Regions from separate parts of the Homo sapiens genome. Here region 1 is linked to region 2. The links are contacts of gene promoters, found by promoter capture Hi-C in human tissues and cell types (Jung and others, 2019). All regions are on one chromosome and are shown on one strand. Each heading gives the region's core, a stretch centred on a gene start or on the middle of the fragment in contact. The rest is flanking DNA. Distances are from core to core; before and after follow the strand shown. Region 1 holds the start of EPX (eosinophil peroxidase). Region 2 holds the start of SCPEP1 (serine carboxypeptidase 1).

Evidence for each region. The method cuts DNA at HindIII sites, captures the fragments that hold promoters and counts their contacts. A contact is called where the count stands out against the background at its distance.
Region 1: the fragment with the promoter of EPX here is called in contact with the fragment with the promoter of SCPEP1 in region 2 in 1 of the 25 tissues and cell types used here (small bowel).

What each region holds. Positions count from the first base shown.
Region 1 is chr17:58,191,030-58,194,682 of GRCh38, forward strand. EPX (eosinophil peroxidase) reads left to right here and starts at 1,697. Exons shown (of 13, transcript NM_000502.6): 1 at 1,697-1,893; 2 at 2,009-2,102; 3 at 2,342-2,517; 4 at 2,685-2,802; 5 at 2,934-3,063. The coding sequence starts at 1,818. The HindIII fragment of the contact is 10,445 bases long and covers 1-3,653 here.
Region 2 is chr17:56,976,539-56,980,472 of GRCh38, forward strand. It overlaps SCPEP1 (serine carboxypeptidase 1), which reads left to right and starts at 1,593. Exons shown (of 13, transcript NM_021626.3): 1 at 1,593-1,697. The coding sequence starts at 1,622. RefSeq lists a silencer at 1,476-1,535. The HindIII fragment of the contact is 4,443 bases long and covers 1-3,934 here.

The sequences.
Region 1 (3,653 bases), core at 447-2,946, 1.2 Mb after region 2:
GGCTCCACCCGGGGAGCACCTGGCTCCCTGAGGGCCGGGAGGTGACACACAGCTGAGGAGTGCTGTGTGATTTATATAATCTCTCTCCTCCATGAGGCTCCCTGTCCCCATCTCACAGGTTTGGAAACAGGTCCATGGAGGGGTGTGATTTACCCAGTCACTCAGTGGGTCAGCATCAAGGAACCCAGTGTGCTTTCAGCTCCTACACAGTGACTTCTACCCAGGCCCCCCGTCACAGGAGAGGGGCCTCCGCTAAAGATAAGGAGATAAGATTAGGAGGGCTCAGGCCATCAACTGGAGCTTGTGAAAGGGGTTGCCGAAGAGAGGTGGTTGTTTCAAGAGCAACGGTTGGGCTGGTAACATTGCTGTGGGAGGAGGAGGCTGTGGAAGGCACCGGGCAGGGTTTCGGTAGGGTGTGGGGGTGGGGGAGGAGAAAGGACACTTGGAACAGCCTCCCTGGGAGTCTGGAGCAGGCACGGGGTCCACACTGAAGAAGGAATGGACGTGTCCTCCTGAAGAAGGGGCGAGGACACGCAGGCTGCTGGCCACAGTGGTGGTGACTCTGGAACTGTCTCAGGGATGAGCATGTGCTCTCCAGGCAGCCGGGATGAGGTCAGAGGCAAAGGATGAACCTGGCTCATCCAGGGCAGGGAACTACAGGAGGAAGGCTTAGGTGCAGAGAGGGTGGGCCCTGGCAGAAGGCCGACTGGGATGCACTCTGCACTTAAGGTGGAAATGGAGGCGCACTTAAGGTGGAAATGGAGGCTCACCCAAGGTCACGAAGCTAGTGACAGGGCTGGATTCAATCCAGGCCAATCAGACCCTGGTGCAGCACACTGCCTCTAAAGAAGCTACTTCTCACCAAGCCCAATAGGAACTCATAATTGAAATCTACTTCTCAGAGTAAACCTACTACTGATTGGCACCTAAGAAACTCCAAGAGAATAAAGCCCATGGCGGGCGCTTACTTTTAGGCTCTGCAGCAGCTCACTGGGCTGGGTGTTTTACCTGTGACATCTCGCCATGTCCCCAAAATGGCCCCATGAGGGATTTCACTGCCAGGCCCTGCCTCAGTCACAGCCTCACACTCTCCCTGGCACCTTGGAGGGAGTGAGTAGGGCTAGGGGATAAGGAGAGGGGCCAAATCATTCATCACAGATCATTCATTCACTCAACAAACACCTGCTAAGCACATACTAAATGCTGGGCTTTGAGCTGGGTATGGGGGGTGTGTATAACAGTAAGGCAGATTCAGTTTCTGCCCTGTTGCAGGAGGAGAGGCACCCTTCCAATCATCTGGCCCAACTCTCATTCTAGGGATGTGAAAACTGAGGCCTGGAGAGGGAAAGTGGCTTGCCCAAGGCCATGCAGCCAGGCGGTGGCGACTGAGGTGCACCGCTCCTGTCAGCCAACAAATATCCATTGAGCGACACCTGTGTCCCAGGTGCTGCTCTGGGCCCTGGGAGAAGTGCATCAGTGGGCTTGGTAGTAGAGGGTAGGGATGGAGTGAAGGGTAGGCAGGAAGAATGTCCCCAGGCTGGTAGGAGGTGGGGTGGGGGGTTTCAGTCTCAAAACTCCCATGAAAACCAGAGAGAAGTTTCAGAACTCCACCCAAGAGGCTGGGTTTCTAGGGCCCAGAGCTGCCCTCCCCCACCCTAGAATGGGCTATAAAAGTCCCTTCCCAGCTACGTCCAGAGAAGAGCTGGAGGAAGTGAGAGGTCGGCTGGGGGTCCTCAAAGTGAGAGGGGAGCAGAGGATCCTCCCGTGCAGGCTGTGGATGTCACTCACTTCCCAGCTGGTGAAGCCTCGCTGCAGAGATGCATCTGCTCCCAGCCCTGGCAGGGGTCCTGGCCACACTCGTCCTCGCCCAGCCCTGTGAGGGCACTGACCCAGGTAATAGTCCCCTAGACAGGCAAGGAGGAGGGAGGGGAAATGGAAGGGGAAGCACTTGGGTCTTGGAGGGGGTCTTGTGGCTTGCTGAACCCTGAGTCCCCATCTCTTTGAACAGCCTCCCCTGGGGCAGTGGAGACCTCGGTCCTGCGAGACTGCATAGCAGAGGCCAAGTTGCTGGTGGATGCTGCCTACAATTGGACCCAGAAGAGGTGGACTTGGGTCTGGGGGCTGCATGGGCCTGGGAGGATCAGTGAGGGGCATGGGCCCCAGCCAAGTTCATCTCACTCATCAGCCACCTCTGGACCCCATGAACATTTCCTGTTGGTAGAGCCTCCCTTCCATCCATCCTTCTGTCCGCTTGCCCTGTCCTGACTGTGCCCCAGGACTGGGTCTCTGCTGGGTGGGTCTGCACCCTCTCTCCAGCCCTCACTCCTCCTCTCCTGGGCAGCATCAAGCAGCGGCTTCGCAGCGGTTCAGCCAGCCCCATGGACCTCCTGTCCTACTTCAAACAACCGGTAGCAGCCACCAGGACAGTTGTTCGGGCCGCAGATTATATGCATGTGGCTTTGGGGCTGCTTGAAGAGAAGTTACAACCCCAGCGGTCCGGACCCTTCAATGTCACTGGTACTCTGATCCCCACTGAGCCCGCTGGGCCTACCCTGGCCTGGAGTAGAAGGAATCCAGGAGAGGGAGGCAGGGTGCACAGGTTTGGGGTGCTGGGAGGAGAGAGGGTAAAGGGATGGGAGGTACAGAGCAGGCCAGCTCAGGTCTGCCCATTTGCCTTCCCACAGATGTGCTAACAGAACCACAGCTGCGGCTGCTGTCCCAGGCCAGTGGCTGTGCTCTCCGGGACCAGGCCGAGCGCTGCAGCGACAAGTACCGCACCATCACTGGACGGTGCAACAACAAGTGCGTGCGGGGCGGCAGGAGGGGCTGCCCCTGCCTGGGGGACCTCTCCCTTCCTGCACCCACCCTCTCCCTCCATGCTGAGCCATCTCCAGGCCCTGCCCCCTGCTAACCTATCCCACCCATGGCTGCAGGAGGAGACCCTTGCTAGGGGCCTCCAACCAGGCTCTGGCTCGCTGGCTGCCCGCCGAGTATGAGGATGGGCTGTCGCTCCCCTTCGGCTGGACCCCCAGCAGGAGGCGCAATGGCTTCCTTCTCCCTCTTGTGAGTTGGGGCTGAGGGTTTGGGAGGTTGCTTGATCTCTTAAATGCGGGGAGTAAAACACAGCCCAGAGTCACGCAGGCAGGGCTTGAACCCAGGCCCTTCCACTGACCAGTGCAGTGACTTGAGGCAAATAACACAGCTTTCTGAGGCTTAGTTTCCTCATCTGTAAAATGGCCCTAAAACCTACCTCGTAGAGCCTGTGTGGATATTGAAGTCCTTGGTATAAATAGCTATAGAGGACATGATCTATTCATGCTAACCATTACGGTGTTGTACGGTTTTTTCTGAGAAAATTAGTGTCAAAGTCTTGCTAAATATAAACAGCTCTATACCTTAATCTGGCTTTATCTATTGATCTATTTCACATTTATCAACTCATCAGTTTTCTATTGATATATCGATAGAGCAGTCTATCATCTACCCATCTATCAACATCTATTAATTAATTTTCTTCTATCCACCCTTCCATCTGCTGACCCCGTACTCCCTACGTGTATTATCCATCACCTGGCAACCAGCCCATGCACCTGTGAATCCGTGCTATCATCTGGTTAGCTATCAGTGTACAAATTGATCTATCTATTTGATCT
Region 2 (3,934 bases), core at 343-2,842:
ATTTTTGTAGAAATGGGGTTTCACTATGTTGGCCAGGCTGGTCTCAAACCCCCGACCTCAAGTAATCTGCCCACCTCGGCCTCCCAAAGTGCTGGGATTACAGGTGTGAGCCACCTTGCGCCCTGGGCTGTAGTGTTATTTTTGTGGCAAAAAAATTGAAACCCTAAAATTCTGACTGCAGTGGAAGGGTAAGTGTATTTCAAGCCCTAGTGATACAGACCAACTTGGAAGCTTCAGACAGGAAAAGTTTGCTAGATAGTTATTTATTTTTAACTAAGCATGTACTTTTATGTATCTCCCATATGGCATGGAACACCTGCTCACTGCAGCCTGGAGCTCCTGGGCTCAAGTGATCCTCCCACCTCAGCCTTCTGAGTAGCTTGGACAGCAGGCGCGTGTCACCACATCAGTTAATTTTTGTTATTTTTTGTAGAGAGGGGGTCTCAATATGTTGCCCAGGCATTATGGATTTTATGCATTCGGGACCATCCCATGCTTAAAGCATGACAGAACCCGGCGGCATATTTTTCTCTGCCGCAGCTTTCAGTGCAGGGGCACCTCACAGGCAGGGCGGGGTCAAGGCTCTGTCCAGACAATGGCTGCAGAGTAAAAAGCACTTCCATTTATGGGGGTCAAGGGCGAGGGGAGGGAGAAAGGAGCAGGGAAAGAGGAGAAGTGGCCACATGTACTTTGATTTGTTTTTTGCTTTTTGTTACATGTACTTTTGAAGCAGTATTTAGAAGTAGCCTCTCCTACAGCCCCTGCTGTAGCTTGTCTCCTAGCTGTGAGGTGAGTTATTCAGTACCCTCTAACGTAAAAATGACCTTCAGACAGACAGACAGACACACACACACACACACACACACACACAGAGGAAAACAGCTCTGTCATCCACTTTTTCTTCCTTTCCCGTCCCCAGACCCTCGATTCTCTCTTTAAAATGACTGCTGTGAAGATAACGTAACACAGAGTAATACTAATGACAAATTATCAAAAAAGAAAAAAAAAATAAAAATCTTTATTAGTGTTTTTTAAAATGACGTAAAAGACTATGGGAAAAAATGCCAACAATAGTTATGTATAACTTTTTTGTTCATATTTCCAAAACGTTTATAACATACATAACTTTAAAAGAAAAATAATTTAAAAAATACATATCTGAAAATGAAACCCCGCTGTTTGCCAACGACCAGCTGGCTTAATCTGACTTCGCAGATGTAGCAGTGTTGGAAAACGTCGGTTCTTTTGCTGAGGGAAGGAAGAGATGGGAGGGGTAGAAAGGGCGGTGGTTATTCCCTTTAGTATTTCGATCCGGTCACACAACCTAAATCCAACATCTGCATCAAATGTCTCCTTTCCGAAATACTCTCCCTAAAATGACAGAGAACCTGGCCAGGCGGACAGAACGGCCCCTGCGCATTTGCAGGGGTCCTGGTGGGCTTGCCGGGCAGAGGGCGTGCGGGTCTCAGCAAGCTGCCGGGTCCGCCCAGGCCCCGCCCCATGCCCATTCAGGCCCCGCCCCCGACCCGCAGGCCCCGCCCCCGACCCGCCCCGTCCGCCTCCGTCACGTGATGGGGCGCCGGGTCCAGCCTGTTGCTGATGCTGCCGTGCGGTACTTGTCATGGAGCTGGCACTGCGGCGCTCTCCCGTCCCGCGGTGGTTGCTGCTGCTGCCGCTGCTGCTGGGCCTGAACGCAGGTAGGTTCAAGCAAGAGGCGCACCAGCTGCCATGCCTCTTTTTTCTCCAGGCGTGAGAGTTTGTTACTGGGTTTGTGCTTTTGAAAACATGTCTCTTTTCCCCGGTTCTTACCTTGTGTAATTATATTGCTTTTGAATCTCACTCTTTTTTTTTTTTTTCCTTAAAAAATTCAAAGTGCTTTTTTTGTCCTTTTCTGGCTCTGGGTGGTCTGAGTGCTTCCGTTCTCTCCTACGCCTAGATAGAAGCTGTGTGCAGAAATGTATGATTTGGGGAAACTGCTGGTCAATGAGGTTTCCCCGATTCAAAGGCCATGATTGGCTGCTAAATGAGGATATAAGGTCGTTTTATTTTAAGCTGAAATCTGCGGTCAAAAGTACCCTTACATCCTACCACGAATGGGACATTTCATTGAGATAAGGCCCTTTCTTTTCTTGATCAAAACAAACAAGATAACATCTTCCCCCACAGCGATCTTTTTTGGCAAAAAACAGATTTGTGTTTAATAGGATGACTTGCAAATTGATTTTCAGCAAAACCTCTCCTAGTCTGAAGCAAGCACTGAGAATTGGAACTGGCCACAAGCTTGCCTTGTGACCTTAGGCAAGTTGTTGAACAGTTTTGTTTTCCTTTTCTAAAATGGGGATCATCTGGCCCTTAGGCGAGTGTCTGGGAGATTTTGTAAAATAAGTAGCTCTGCCAATTTTACCAGTAGTCACTGCCAGGCAAGGGAGAAGTGCCTGGGGTTAGGTCAAAAGGTACCTGCGCCTTATCTGTCATTCTCAAGGGAGCGCAGCCTTATCTGTTATTGTCAAGGACAATATAATCGTGTGTTACTTGTATATAGAACCTTATAGCTAAGTCTGTAATGTTTTAGTCATCTGTTTTGCTCCTCAGGACACTTTCTGGTTTTCTTAATCTTCATTGTTGTTTTGTTTTGAGTCAGGGTCTCACTATGTTGCCCAGGCTGGTCTGGAACTGCCTGACTCAAGTGATCTTCCTACTTCAGCATCCCAAGTAGCCCGGACTGCAGACACAGGCCACCACCCTGGCTCTTTCTTATTTACAAGACGTTGTCTCATTGTCTTCCTCTCTACTCCTGTCTCTTTAGCTGTTGGGACCAGTGTTCTTTTACTGACCAATGGGGCTTGAAATTTGAGAAGGGAGGAAATAGAAGGCAGAAAACTCCAGTCACCGAGGGGATCCCCCCCATCATCTTTTAACAACAGCCCCTCTACTTTTTTTTTTCCCAGAGTGGTTTTGGAGGAAAAAAAAAAAGATGCTATAACTTGGAAATTGTTACGTTAGCAAAAAGTGACAAAGAAAATGTATTTAGCCTACTCTTTTCTAAAACATATTTTGTGGATGCTAGAAAAGTTAAGTAAGGAAAATTGGAGTTAGGGGATTATAGGATACGTATATTAAACACACATACACAGATATATATCGTTCAGTTTAAAAAAATCATCTACATGAGTTAGGAAAATTGCCCTTTTTCATATTTGTTGTAGCTCTTTCCTTGCTGTTTGCCTTTTTATTTTTGATTTACAGAAATTTTGTTGTATAGAAATATAACAAGTTTCTGTTCTCACCTCCATCATTGTTTCTTTTGTACAGTCTCTGGGGTTTGCTTAGATTCTTTCCTCATCCAGACATTAGAAATATATTTAACTATATTTTTGTATTTTTTTAATGTTTAAAGTTTAAAATTTAATTGCTTGATCCTCATGGAACTTATTTCGTTTATAGTGTTGAGAGGACCTAAATTTCTCTTTTTTTCTCCAAAAAAGGTAATTGTTGCTCCATTACTGTATATTGAATATTCTCAGCCCCACTAATTTGTGATGCCTCTTCACTCATGTTTTTTGTTTGTTTGGTTGGTTGGTTTTTTGTTTTTTTGAGATAGGATCTCCCTCTGTCACCTAGGCTGGAGTGCACTGGTGTGATCACAGCTCACTGCAGCCTCAACCTACTGGGCTCAAGCGATTCTCCTACCTCTGTCTCCTGAGTAGCTGGGACCACAGGCATATGCCACAATGCCCAGCTAATTTTTGCATTTTTTGTAGAGATGGGGTGTTGCTATGTTGCTTAGACTGGTTTTGAACTCCTATGCACAAGCTATCAGCCTGTCTTGGCCTTCCAAAGTGTTGGGATTACAGGAGTGAGCCACCAAGCCTGGTGTCTTACTCATGTATTAAATACGATATAAAAACCAGTATATTGCATTCTGAGATTTTTA